Linked DNA regions of Homo sapiens: all the other regions are linked to region 1. Evidence: promoter capture Hi-C in 16 types of primary human blood cells and fetal thymus (Javierre and others, 2016). All regions are on one chromosome and are shown on one strand. Each heading gives the region's core, a stretch centred on a gene start or on the middle of the fragment in contact. The rest is flanking DNA. Distances are from core to core; before and after follow the strand shown.

The links. Contacts are between HindIII fragments. The CHiCAGO score rates a contact against its expected background, and 5 or more counts as called.
Region 2: a contact is called between a fragment that was not itself captured here and the fragment with the promoter of LRATD2 in region 1, in 1 of 17 cell types (fetal thymus). The highest score is 6.5, in fetal thymus.
Region 3: a contact is called between a fragment that was not itself captured here and the fragment with the promoter of LRATD2 in region 1, in 1 of 17 cell types (fetal thymus). The highest score is 6.3, in fetal thymus.
Region 4: a fragment that was not itself captured here is called in contact with the fragment with the promoter of LRATD2 in region 1 in 2 of 17 cell types (total CD4 T cells and fetal thymus); the score reaches 9.5 in total CD4 T cells.
Region 5: a fragment that was not itself captured here is called in contact with the fragment with the promoter of LRATD2 in region 1 in 1 of 17 cell types (total CD4 T cells); the score reaches 7.6 in total CD4 T cells.

Annotation. Positions count from the first base shown.
Region 1 is chr8:126,557,105-126,559,936 of GRCh38, forward strand. It overlaps LRATD2 (LRAT domain containing 2), which reads right to left and starts at 1,374. Exons shown (of 2, transcript NM_174911.5): 1 at 930-1,374; 2 at 1-381. The coding sequence starts at 285. It overlaps LOC105375751 (a long non-coding RNA gene), which reads left to right and starts at 772. Exons shown (of 6, transcript NR_188069.1): 1 at 772-827. RefSeq lists an enhancer at 776-1,612 and a silencer at 1,327-1,506. The HindIII fragment of the contact is 2,746 bases long and covers 657-2,832 here.
Region 2 is chr8:130,364,131-130,366,962 of GRCh38, forward strand. All of the region lies in intron 2 of ASAP1 (ArfGAP with SH3 domain, ankyrin repeat and PH domain 1), which reads right to left. Among named protein-coding and RNA genes, the nearest start is that of ASAP1-IT1, 69 kb to the left of the region's middle. The HindIII fragment of the contact is 1,736 bases long and covers 516-2,251 here.
Region 3 is chr8:129,944,053-129,946,567 of GRCh38, forward strand. The region is part of intron 2 of CYRIB (CYFIP related Rac1 interactor B); the gene reads right to left. Among named protein-coding and RNA genes, the nearest start is that of MIR5194, 63 kb to the right of the region's middle. RefSeq lists an enhancer at 1,296-1,796. The HindIII fragment of the contact is 5,391 bases long and covers 1-2,515 here.
Region 4 is chr8:129,722,709-129,725,540 of GRCh38, forward strand. It overlaps a transcript of GSDMC not described here. Among named protein-coding and RNA genes, the nearest start is that of CCDC26, 44 kb to the left of the region's middle. The HindIII fragment of the contact is 213 bases long and covers 1,289-1,501 here.
Region 5 is chr8:129,689,421-129,692,252 of GRCh38, forward strand. No RefSeq gene overlaps it. Among named protein-coding and RNA genes, the nearest start is that of CCDC26, 11 kb to the left of the region's middle. RefSeq lists enhancers at 1-1,152, 2,005-2,832 and a cis regulatory region at 1-274. The HindIII fragment of the contact is 2,095 bases long and covers 305-2,399 here.

The DNA of each region.
Region 1 (2,832 bases), core at 124-2,623:
CTTCTGGTAGATGCATTCGTCCCGGTAGAACACGGAGCATTCCACCTCGTGCAGCCGCGGATCGTAGGGCTGCGGCTGGGGCGGCGGCGGCCCGTCCCCACCGTCGGGCAAGCCGCCGCCATCTGGCCCCTGAGGCGGCGGCTGCGGCTCCACGTCCTCATCGTCATTGGAGAAAATGTAGGAGACCCCAATGCGGGGCCCGTCGTCCCGGTCCACGCCAGTCGGGTCGGCCGTGGGAACTTCCTTGTAACTTAGGTGGGTCAATTTCTCCACCTGGTTGCCCATCACGCTGCGGACACACGTTCACACCGCCGCAAGGGGAGAAAGCGAAACCAACTCCAGGGTCATTTGCACAGGTCCCCGGACAGGGGCTGAGGCTACCTGTTGGGAGAGGAAGGCAAGAAAGCCATGCAGGAGCCCCTCCGTGAAAAGGGCGTTTTGTTCCGAAAAAGAATCGGTGGGGGCTCAGCACCTGGAGCCATTTTAGGGGGAAGTCTCGGGTGTAGCGAGCTTTCCCTCGTTTCTCCACCTGTAAGGTCACGGTCACAGGAGACTGGGCAACTCCTGTTCTCCCTGTCCCCAGCCCTTCGCCTGGCCCTGGCAAAAGCCCATTGCATCAGCAGCTTCTACTGCTTCCGCCTGCGCCCTACCTGCCAAGCTTGGGCAGGAAGAGGGAAGGAAAGAGAAACTTTACGCCAATCCCCCCCCTCCTCTGCTAACTTCCCCTCCCACCCTCGGGCCCTAACTAGCCCCGGGGACGCCTCCTCCCCACCAACGCATCCATCCCCAGAGGAACAAGCGAGGATCTCAGAGCGCGACCTGGACAGGTGAGTCACCCTACCTGGCTCACCTGCAGCGCTACCTCCTCCCGGCTCGCCCGCCCTTCCCCCGCGCCCGCCCTCAGGCTCGGGTTACCTGCACAAACTCACCCGCGGAGAGGTGAAGGCCGTGGGGCCTGGGGAAGGGCTCCCTGCCGCGCCCCGAGACTTCTAGGGCGAGTTTGAAGGTGTAGGCTCGGCAGTCCCTCCTCTCCCGGCGCGGGCGGCAGCGAGGCTGGGCAGAGGGCAGCGCAGCGGGCAGACTAGGGGCATGTCTTTCCCCCGCGGCTGCGTAGCGCCCCGATACTTGAAGGCGGGGGGCAATCCCTGTTCACACCGCGCTTCCTCCCGCCAGCTGGGGCTGCTGCCCCTCCTCAGCCAGCTCTCGGGGGAGGTGGGGCGCGAGGAGGAGAGGACGGCAGCCTCGCAGCCTGGCGGCAACAGCTCCCGCTTGGGCCGGGCGAGCAACAAGCACCGGAGCTGGAGGGACGGGATTGTAGATCCGGCTCCGGGCTCCCGGGCGGGAGCGCAGCCCGTGGCATTTAAAGAGACAGGCGCTCACTCCCCGAGCTCGGGTCTTTTTCACATTGCGCCGAGCGGCCGGGAGCCCCGCCCCCGCCCCGCCCACTCGGGCCTCGGGACTCCGCCCGGCCACGCCCCCGCGCCGGAGCGGGTTTAAATCCCCCTGTAAATAATCCACCCGCCGCCTGGGGCTGGTGCTGTGAGCTCTGCTTGCCTTCCGAGACAAGTTAGAAGGCAAACACAACTTGCCAGTGTGGAAATGAGAAAGGGAAGGAGAGTTTGGTGTTTGCGCCTTTTCCCTTTGACCTGTTTTTTCCCAGAGTACCTGGAGAAGGAGGAACAGTCGTTTCTTTTCTTTCCTGGAACATATTTCTTGCCCTAAAGGTCACAAGAAAGGATTCTTCACCAGGACAGCTCGAAGAGTGCGTCATCCTAGAGGTGTTTTCAGAGTTAGTAGTGGGAAACTTTGGGGTAGAAAAGAAAATCGCAGAAAAGAAACAGTATAAAACAGAACGAAGACTTATTCACTGACTGGGTCCCAAGACCACCGCTCTGTTTATTAGATACCCCTGGAAGTTAGTACAAAGTTCATAACCTCCGTTATTTCCAGAGAGGTACCAGTTCGTTGGATAGTGAGAGAAGCGTGCAGCTCTGACTGCTTTTTTTTGGGGGGGTGGGGGGTTAGGGGATGTAGGAATTGCCTAATTCCTACATCCTAATTCTAATTGTCCTTAAATTAGAAACAAATTAGCAGAGGCCCTAGTGGATATATTTCCTTCCTGTTGACTTAGGGAAGTGACAGGAGACCAGTAATGCCTACTAACCTCCACCACAAAAGGACACTTCCACCTCTCCACTGGTTTCGTTTCTTTTACCTAAATGTAGGCTACCAAAGTGTTTTTTTTGTTGTTGTTGTTGTTTATTTTTTTAAAATAATGGGTCCGGTGAGGGTGGAGGATTAACAGCTCTGTTTACAATAAACAAGTTTAGGCACTACTGCAAGCACCCAGACTTATTCGTAGGGGACTTAAGAATGCGATTCAAGACCTATATTCTGTCTTCAGTTGCTTTCTTTTGACTAATTTTTTCCAGCATGTATAACCAGCCAGTGGAAACAGGAATATACTAGCACTACTGTGATCCTTTCTAGTTTAGGAGAAAAAAATAAAAATCATTCTACTTATGTAATTTTGAGTCCAAACAATCAATATTGGCAGGGCTGTGATAGAAATTAGTCCTTCAGCAAGTCTGAAGTATAAGTTAGATCAACATGAGACTACTGTGTGCTGTGCGATTCTGTTTCAATAATTTCAGACTGGCTGGCCTCAGGCGCATGTGACTGAATGAATCCAACACACCCCAGTCCTTTTGATAGCAAATGGTGTGGGGGGCTGCTGTTACCTGAGTGATATTTGTTGCCATCATATGATCACCATATTATAGACAAGAGTTAGGCTTATAGAGATTATGGCTGGTCATCCTATGTTCATCA
Region 2 (2,832 bases), core at 134-2,633, 3.8 Mb after region 1:
AGAGTTTTCTCAGTAAAGAGAAGAACATGGTTTGTTTGGAGACAAAAAACTACTCTGGTTCTACCTCCCTGTTCCTCTGATGGAAGTAGGAAGAAAAGAGGCAGAATGGTGGGAACCTAGAAGAAATGTAGCATAAATATCAACTGAATGAACTCAGGGATGTATTTCTGTTTAGTCCTATGAAAGAATAATTGTGCTTAGTATTATGCGCCCTGTATTATCCTGAGTCATTGCAGGCGCAACCTCACTTAATACTTGCAGCAACAATATAAAGCAGGTACTGTATTATTCCCCATGTTATATGCATGGGAAACCTGAAGCTTAGAGGTTACCTGTCAAGTAGTGGAGCAGGACTCAAGCAATCTGATTTCATAGCCCATGTGATCAGCCACCATGCTCTGTTGGCTTATCAAAGACAATGGATGAGTCCACAGCCCCAGGATGCTTTTTCTGTTGGGGTATATGTGCGTGTGTTTTCCTTCTGGGGAACTCATTACAAGCCCAATTCAAATGCAAGCTTGACTGGTCTAGAGAGCAGCTCCTTGCCCCATTCCTCCAGGTGGGATTAATCTTCATGTGGGTATCCACAGTCAGCTTCTCTCACTCTGCCTTAAGCAACTGGAGGATATTGGCACCATTCAGAGGAGAAACTGAGAACTTCCTCAGCAACAAATAGCTCTGTTAGCAGAAGGGCTTGGCTCTGACTCATCTCTCACTTGGGCTCAGGAGTTTGAGGCTGCCGTGAGCTATGATTGCACCACTGCACCTCAGCACTCCAGCCTGGACAACAGAGCAATCCAGTCTCAAAAAATAAATAAATAAAATAAAACACAAAAAACAAATGCCAAACAAACAAACACCTTGTATCTTCCAAGTGAGTATCCTATACCGCAAAGTCCCAGACTATCAATCCCTGACAGCATTCAGGGACTAAATCCTACCCATGTCTGTATCACCTACATCCCCCAGCAACTAAAGCAAGGACAGAAGATTCCTGGAGCCCCAGGCTTGGCCTTTTACAAGCACCATCTCCTGAAATCTTCCTAGTAACCTAGTGAGGTAGTGTGTTTTCTGCAAGAGAACTCAGAGATAAGCACAATTTGCTCAAGGTTAACAGTTAATAAGTGGAAAAATGCTATTCAGTCAGTCTGAATCCAAACCCTGTAGGCTTTTTCTTCTCTAGGAAAGCACTGCCTAGTTGGGGTCCCTTGTGGGCCCCCATAAATGTGTTTTGAATTGAACTGGCTCCCTTTTATGAGCTACATCATTTCTAATACAAGTAAAACAACCTCCAATGAAGAAAAAAATCATGGTGTTTTATGGGAGTCCTAAAAACTTGCGATCTATAGGAACGAGGGATTTAAAATCTTGCTTATTTCTGATAAAGTCACATTAACCTGAAAAATGAGAAAAACTTACAATACACCCAGGTTTCTTTGATGAATTTAAGTTGAGTTCATCACCTTTAATGATGCCCAACTTCTGTGCTATATCAAGAATGAGAACGTTCCTCTTTTATGGCCCTTTTCAATGGTATCATTTTCCAGGGTACCATTTTCCAAATATTTATATTTATCCAACTAGACTGTGACCTACCTAAGACCAGGGAGGGTTTCTATTTGCTATTATGGCCCCAAAGTGCCAAGTGTTTAAGAGATACTTACTGAATAGAAGGAAGACTGAATGAATGAATGAACAAACATTTATAGGGGGAAGGGTATGAGAGGAATTGAGAGAGGAGAAATGGAGAGATCCAGAAGAGAGTAAGATCCACAGAAGTGATCCCGGTTTTTAGAGTCGCTGTCATTATTTTACATCACTATAAGCCATAAGAGCCAGCGAGAATTTTAAGGATAACATGCTTTCCAAACTTTTCATTTTTTGGATAAGGAAACTGATTCCCAAGCAGTTAGGTGACTTGCCCAGTGTTCCCTGACAGATTTGTGGGAACTGAGCCAAATGCCAAGTATCCTGGTTCCCAAGGGTTTCCCACTCCACCTTTCCCAGTTATATTTCAAGGATAGGATTAAAGACCTTCAGAAACTCCCGTCTACAACAGATTATGTTGTCTTTGCATCACAGAATCAAGGAATGCCTATGCACAATTGCCTACTATTTAAAAATTGTAACAGTATAAAGTTTGGCACACCATCACTTAACTGACACTCCTAATTTGGGGCAAGAGGACTGTGCCCCACAGTACTCACCTAGTTGTACTGTTTTTCTAAGCCACCCACCCTTTACCCAGAGAAGCTTCCCAGCACATGCAGAGTGTAGGTCAAATTTCTCCTTTTCTCAAGTCCAGTTGCCTATTGTGATTGACACAGTTCCTCCTCCCTTGGTCATTTTCAGAGATGAGATCATTGCCTCCTGAGTCTCTGACAACATTTTCCCCTGGGTACAGAGGTATTAGGAGGGAACCAGTCAGTTCAGTTCTAATCCACAAACAGTTATTAAGCAGCTTTATAACCTTTCTAGGGGCTAAGAGTGTGCGATCTGGATTCAGATTACCTGGGGTTCAATCTCAGTGCTGCCATTTAACAGGATTTGTTACCTTAGGCAAGTTATTTAATTTAAATTACTTTATTGTTAAAAGGAAGATGATGATAAGCCCTCTCTCTCAAGGTTGTGGTAAGATTGAAATGAGATAATCTGTGCAAATGCTTAGCACAGTGCCTGGTATATAGTAAGTGATCAATAAACATTAGCTACTAATACCACTATTTGCATTCTAAACAGGTACTATGCTAGATTCCTTTTTTTTTTTTTTTTTTTTTTGAGACAGAGTCTTTCTCTGTCACCCCAGGCTGGAGTGCAGTGGCACAATCCCGG
Region 3 (2,515 bases), core at 1-2,500, 3.4 Mb after region 1:
TCATACACCATACTAAGAAATTTGAACTTGCCTTCTGAAGGCAACAACAAGTAAAGAGACGCTTCTAACCAAGGGAGACACATAATCAGGTATGTTTTATATCAGGATCACTCTGACCACAGGGTCCAATATGGACTACAGTGGTAGGGAGAACAGAGGGCCAGCAAAGCAGTTAAGAGGCTGCTGTGGGGTCCAGGAGAGGGATAAGGAGAGCCTGCTCAAGGAAACTGGCAGCGAGGATGAAGAACAGGCACCGGAATTAAGATGCTACCTGATGCAGAATCTGCAAGTTCAATCTGGGGGAAGAGGAGACTGGGGTTGTCGGGATGACCCAGAGGCTCCTGGCTTAGCAGACAAACTGGATGGTGACACCACGTGATATCAATACTTTTACACAGTTTTCATTCCTCTTATCTTCCAATCTTTATCCATGTAAATGCACTTGCTTTGCCGGGCGCGGTGGCTCACGTCTGTAATCCCAGCAGTGTGAGAGGCCGATGCAGGTGGATCACTTGAGTCCAGGAGTTCGAGACCAGCCTGGCCAACATGGTGAAACCCCGTCTCTACTAAAAATACAAAAATTAGCCAGACATGGTGGCACACGCTTGTATTCCCAGCTATTCTGAAGGCTAAGGCAGGAGAATCACTTGAGCCCAGGAGGCAGAGGTCGCAGTGAGCCAATATCCCACCATTGCACTCCAGCCTGGGCAACGCAGTAAGACTCTGTCTCAAAAAAAAAAACAAAAACAAAAATAAATAAATAAATGCACATTGCTTTCATTGGTTTCTTCAGATATGTGCAACTCTTTCCCAATACTTTTTCATATTTCTACACACTCACATCTATCATTTTAATGACTACAGAGTATTTCATCATACTGAAATACCTCAGTTTCCTTCAGTTGCTAAAGGTCCACATCCTACATGGCTGGTTTACCCTCTAGACTCATTTGGCTTTGGGTATTTTGCAAGGGATGAGTTGAGCCTTTAGGGAAAAAGAGCCTTTAGGCAAAAGGTGTTGGAGAAGTGTGGCCTCCGGGGAAGCTGCAACTCTCCTGGGAGGGGCCTGGGCAACCGCATTGCTGTATTGCAGGTAAAAAATGCGGAACTATGGAAAAGAACCTGTCATCCATGGGGAGCCTGAGGTCCAAGTTTCCACAGAAGCTGGTTTTCATGTCCTAACTCCCTAATCCATTTGTTCATTCATGTGTTCATGTATTCACTCCTTCTACAAAGCATTCCTGTGAATGCAGAGGGCAACACAGCAGAGCTGAAACCATGTCTATGCTCTGGATGTAACTTAGGCTCTGAAACCTGCTCTACAACTTACACAAGTTATTCAACATCTGAAAGCCTCAGTTTCCCCCACAAGTTTGTTAACTCAGAGAAAACTTGTAAAATGCTAGGGACTGAACTAGGCACAGACTAAGCTCAATAACAGTTTTCAGTCTTGGTTTTCTCCTTATGCTTTTTTGACTCCCACCACTGTACCTTGAGTTTCTTTTTTTTGTATTTTTATTTATTTATCTATTTGAGACAGAGTCTTGCTCTGTCGCCCCAGGCTGGAGGGCTGTGACACAATCTCCACTCACTGCAGCCTCCGCCTCCCGAGTTCAAGCGACTTTCCTGCCTCAGCCTCCTGAGTGAGTAGCTGAGATTACAGGCATGAGCCACCACACCTGGCTAATTTTTGCATTTTTAATAGAGACAGGGTTTCACCATGTTGGCCAGACTGGTGTTAAACTCCTGACCTCAGGTGGATCTGCCCACCTTGGCCTCCCAAGGTGCTGGGAGCCACTGCACCCAGCTGTACCTTGAGTTTCTGACCAAACCCACTGGGTAGCCATCCATGAGCTGCAGCTCAGGTCCTAAATCTGCCAGAGTGAACTAGACCCACTCACTTGATCTTTGCTTCCTATCTGTGAAATGGAGATAAGACAATCTACTTCTCGGAAATGTTGGGAAGCTCTCATGAAGACTGTATAAGAAAATACTTTCAAAGCTCCAAAGCACTATGTCATTATTGACTGTTAACTTTTGTTAGAGACATTTTGTTTTCTTTGTTTTTCCCTTTAAAAAAACTCTGACCTCAGCGTAAGCTCCCTGGATTGTAATTACTGGGTCAAAGGATCTGAAAATTTTTTAGATCCTGATTTGTTATTGCCCAATTGTCCTTAGAGAAGACTCTATATTTTGCTGCCAGCCTTCACTCAAAGACATCTTTCAATATGCTTCAGCACCTAGAGTATAGTTTTTGCTGCCTCTGTATCCAGTCTCGCTCCTCAATTGAACATTCAGGGAGTTCTATCAACTGTTTCTCTCTTCCTTTTCACAGGATGAATGAACACTGAATCCTTTAGAAAACAGCTCCAAACATTTCCACCATAGTCAGGGACTCCAGTGTTGCCTTAGGGATGAGGACTCCATGGATATTTAACGAAGAAAGGGGAAGAGGACAGGGGACAGAGGCCTGAGAATCCCCTGGGAAGGGCTAGAAGCTCATCCAGCATTGAAA
Region 4 (2,832 bases), core at 145-2,644, 3.2 Mb after region 1:
AATGAATGGTAAATGCCAAACAATGTCTTTCTCACTTCAACATATGTTAACCCAGAGTCTTACATATAGCATAGTCTTGCATACAGATGGATTTAACTTTTTTCAAAACACATATTTAAAAAGGATTCTAGTCATATGTTTTTGTTTGGGGCCAGCGAAAATTTTGAGAATTAAGCTGATTTGAATTATCTACGCACCAGAGTTCTAAAATTGATAGATTCTAATCATAAAACTGTAGAATGTTCACAAACAAGAGGGAGGTACTCACCACATTCTATTTTTCTGTGCCATTCCCATTTCAGTGTAAGCACCACTGAAAGCAAACACCAAAAACATTTTCAAACAAATGTTATCTATTCTTAGATGTGAATCATGCCACTGTTAGCCAACCATGAGTAAAACTACCATCGTGCATGCACATCCTTCCTCCCAACCTAGAAAAATTCTACCCGTCCCAGGGTCTTCTGACCTTGACACTCACCCTCTGCACTGCTAGGTGGCCATCCGGGCTCAGCATCTAGCAGTTTTTTTGTTTCTGTTTTTGTTTTTTGAGATGGAGTCTCTCTCTGTCGCCCAAGCTGGAGTGCAGTGGCATGATCTCGGCTCACTGCAACCTCTGCCTCCCGGGTTCAAGCTATTCTCATGCCTCAGCCTCCTGAGTAGCTGGGATTACAGGCATGTGCCACCACGCCTGGCTATTTTTTCTTCTCCTTTTTTTTTTTTTTTTTTTTGTATTTTTAGTAGAGACAGGGTTTCAACATCCTGGTCAGATTGGTCTCGAACTCCTGACCTCATGATCCACCCGCCTCGGCCTCCAAAAGTGCTGGGATTACAGGCATGAGCCACCGCGCCTGGCCGCATCTAGCAGTTTTTTACTGCTTGGGAAACCTAGTGAATTTTAATGCCATTGATCAACTCTGCTCAAACACTCCTGGCATGAACTGAGCAAAGCCCTGGTTCCTAGGCAGCCATTACAAAAGCACAAGGATTTCCAAAATAAAAAGAGACCCAGAGCACACTTGAATCAAGGGCAGTTGCACTGTTTATTTGCAAGTGATTGGATTGCACCCCTACCTTGGTTAAATGGTTTATTTCTCTATGAATTACTCTAGAAAATACTACTACTCTAGCCCTTCCAATTTTTAACTAAGCTGAAAGTATTTTTACTTTTTCCAGACTCTCAGTGAGGAAAGAATGAGGTATGTTTTAATGCTGGAACTTCTAGCAAATAGTAAGTGTTCAATAAATACTTGTTGAATTAACTAATTAATTAATATGTGGGCACAAAAGCTTGCTTTTGCATCCTAAAGCAATCATGGCCTCTGGGGAAAGCCAGGCTTGCTGTATCCTGAGGCAATCACTCACTCTGGAGAAATCCAGCCTCCATGTTGAGAGGGCACTCAAGCCATCTATGGAGAGACCACATGGTTAGGAACTAAGGCCTCCTGCCTACAGCCATGCAAGACAGCCATCTTCAAAACAGATCCTCCAGCCTCAATTAAGCTTTCAGGTGACTATAGCCCTTGCCAACATCCAACTGCAGTCACATGTAAGACCCTAAGCCAGAACCAGCCAGGTAGGCCATTCCCAAATTCTTAACCAGCAGAAAGAGGAAAATATAAGTTAAATGTTTATTATTTTAAGCCATTACGTTTTGGGGGTGATTTGTTATGCAATAGATAATACAATCTATTTGTTTATCAATAGATTATATTGATAACACAATAGATAATACAATAACAATTTGTTTGCAATAGATAATACAATCTTCTTTCACCTTGTCTGAGATGACAGCTTATTAAAATACAAACTCCTGGAAGGCAGGTTTTCTGTCTTATTCCCTCCTGTATTCCTGGTATCTTGTATGCATCCAATAAACAATGAGTAACAACTCACTTAATGACAAGCTGGTTCCTAATTTTGTATAGAAAACTATATATGTTCACACACAGAAACAGAAGTAGAATTCTTCAAAAAAATGATACTTTTTAGCGAAAAAGCGTTAGATAGCATAATTATCCAAAAAGGAACTATTGGAAATTATGGAAAAAAATGTTATTAGAATTCACATAATCCTCCTCCCTTACTGGGGTGGGAGGGAGCTACCTATAGAAGGAATACAGGGCCTTGAAGTATTCAAAGAAATAACAATTAACAAAGGGCATAGTTTGAGGAGCCCAGCTTCTCATGAGAAGAAAAAGGCATTGCAAGGTGGCACAGAGGGACTAAGATCTCAAGCTCTACTTGGAGGTTTTCTTGAAGTGCTCCTGAAGCAATATCATAAAAGGAATTTGAGAATACAAGGCCAGTTGAACAAGTTAACCCTTCAGCCCCTTTCTAACTTGAGCTGTTGTGATTGCTCCTGTCCTCTGCTAGCCTGAGAAAGCTCAAGAGGAAGACCATGGGGCCACCATTTTCCACATTCACATTCACACATGCCCTCTCTCCATCAAGTATCTTATTAGACTATCTGTTGGAGTACAGGCTAAATAAGTGTCCTCAAATAAGTGATGGTGAATAATGGCAGCACGTCCCTGTCCTGTTCCCTGACAATAAAGCTGGTATAGATTAAAGGCAAGATTTATCCTCCCTGGAACCTCAGGTAATGAACTGACTACCTGTATTCAAATCAAAGACACACTCATGCGTTCTTTTCTTTCTAACAGCTCAATTTCCAGAGTTGATATTGTGTACTCTGCCACATGCTGTGAGGTATGTAAGAAAAGTGGCATGTGGCCTGGCATCTCAGTTACTTATCACCCCCCTCCAGAGCCAGGGAGCAGTTTCAAATGTGTTCGATTGCCCAAGATCTAAAAATTAAAAATAGTAATT
Region 5 (2,832 bases), core at 102-2,601, 3.1 Mb after region 1:
GTTGCTTGGGAAATCTTCCTGCTGATCAGAACTTCCTCTCCACTGTACCTTTTTCCCTCCTTAGAGCCAACATCCAGGCCTTATCTCAGATGAGGAAATGTTTAGGGCACAGGACCGTTGAGATATTTCTCAGAACACAAATTACGAGGCACATGTTTTCACAGAGAAGAAAATAAGGAGAAGACACACAGTGATCACCATGCTGGTTCTGAGAACAAGCCCTTATCTGCTCTGACCCAGCTCTGGACTCACAGGCTGGTGTCAGCCTCACAACTGGTCAATGAGGCAGCCAGGAAAAGTCCAAAGCTTTAGGTGGGGGAGTCCATCGCCCAAAGGCAAAGGTGCAAAAAATAAACACTTAAGAGAGAGCTGCAGCCTCAAAGCCCTGGGCTGTACCAGGCCGACATACCACAGCAAAAAGCCTATGAAGTCCTACAAAATGTAAGCACCTCACCAAGCTGCTAGCATGGAGGGATTGCACATTAAAACTCTGGTCACGTTACAAATGTCTGTGCAGGGTCTTCCCGCCAGGAAACCCCAATGCAGTGAGGAGGATACTATGCATGTTTAAAAAACTAAGCAGTCATAAGATTACAGTAATCATTCCAAGCAGGACAAAAAGAAAGAAAAGATGAGGTGATACAAAGTACTACATGGTCAATGAATGACCAGATAAATGATGGAATCAATAATTACTAGAAGAGTTCAGAGGGAAAAGTTCAGGTAGGAAGGACTAGCTTGGCTTAATAATATCTATCATTCATTAAATACCTACTATCTGCCAGAATTTGAGAATTTTTCTTTCAATGACTTCACAAGGTCTGTGTTAAGTATCTGCACTTCACCAAGGGGAAGGCTGAAATGTGGAGAAGCCAGGTGACCTCCCACAGTAACTCAGCTGTAGGAACCAGGGTGAGTTCTGTCTCGTTCTCCTGAACAATTACCTGAGTTTCCTTAGCCATAGAGGTCCTGAGAAATTGCTTGAGTTTCCTTAGCAATAGAGGACAAGGAGAGCTTGGATAAAGCCAAAAGGAAAGAGAGGGATCATTGCAGGCAGGTGAAAGGAGCAGCTGAAATCACAGAGGCAGGAAAGTCAAAAGCACATGTGCGGCTGTTAACAGAGATGAATTTAGCTAGGGTGGAGGTTTCTGGAATGGATAGAACTTATTGAGTACTTACTGTGCTAAGCAAAGTTCTAAGAACTTTATATAGATAATCTCATTTAACCCTCACAATAACCCTGTGAGGTATGGAGTATTATTATTCCCAAAGTATGGATAAGGAAGTCAAAGCATAGAGAGGTTAAGTAACTTGCCCAAGATCACATAGCTGATAGGCAGCAGAGGTAAGACTTGAACATAGTCAGGATTGAAAGTCCATGCCCTTAATCACTACAATGTACTTGAAGGAGTTTGTCATAGAAAGCTGGAAAAGCTGGATTCCCTGAGGGGTTGCCTTGAATGCCAAGTGTTTGCACTTAATCTTTCTGCAGAAAAAAAAAGGAATTATAACGAAATACCTGTTTCTATATAAACAAAGCAAAGCAAGGGCAGAGAAGCTCTCAAGACAAAGTCCAGCCAAATAAAGGGCTGCAGCCTCCTCACCCCTTGGGGTTCTCTGCATGTTTCACTTCCACGGCAATCATGTGATCAAAGCAGAAACGTTCTTTTAGTTGTGGTGAGAAAGGTGGACTGGAAGAAGGGAAGAACAGTCGGACGCTAGCGCCAGAGGCAAAGCAGGAAGTGACGAAGGCATGCAGTACGTGGGAGCTGCAGGAAGGCTGGAACAGTGGAGGTGGATGGTAGAGCAATGGAGAAGGAAGGGTCAAAAGGCTTTGATGAACCATTAGAGAAAAGTAGTCGTTACTGGTTGTGGCTTAGGTTAACCTACCATGAACCCATTTTCTGACCCAAGAACTGGGCTGACAGGTCCCCATAAGAGTGAGGCAGAATGTCTGAAGCTATCTCTGCTCCAGAAAGCCAAGGACAGTCTGTCTTTGTGTTTGTGCCTGTCACCTTCTGCATGCTTCTGGGAAAGGAGTTCCTTTGACCAAGGAGCCCTCCTGGGGAAGGCCTGTCCAGAGACTTAGAACCAGAAGAAAGACAGGACACTAGGAGAGGCACAGATCCTCCCAGAGATCAGCCTTAAGAGCCCCCCCAGACTCTCCTATGTAGAAATCTACATGGGATTCCCCTGGCATTTATGGAGGGCACTTCCTATTTTAACGAGATTTCATATGTATTACCATCCTTGATTCCATTCACCCCTTCCAAGAAAAAACAGAGCCATGGGAGTGTGGGACAAAGAATGAGCATTTGTTAGAGGCTGACTCTCTTCCAGGTAGCATGCTCTGTACTCTCCTGCAGCTGTTTTAGATCATCCTCACACTCCGTGGGACAAGCTTTTACTCCCCCCACATTAAAAATGAGGACTTGAGCTCCAGTGTGATGAAATGACTTCTCATGATCATACAACCAAGAAGGAATAGGCTAGAGATGGACACTGCCTTTGCCTTTTCCCTGGGACAGGAAGGCAGACCTAACCTCACCATCTCACAGGTAAGGAAATATTCAAGGCCCCAAAACACCATGGAGATCAATACCAGAGCGAGACTAAAATCCAGAGCTCACAGTTTCTAGTCCTGTGTTCATTTTGCGTTTCATTATGTTATTTGAGCACATTTGTGTTTTGGCAAGTTCAGCTCCTTAAGGAAAGGGTCCAGGTCTTTACAACTTGACATCCCCACAGTGGCCAACACCATGGATGGCCTCTGAAGACATGAAGCATGTATCGCTGATTTGTGGAATGAACCAACTGCTATAACTCATCTCT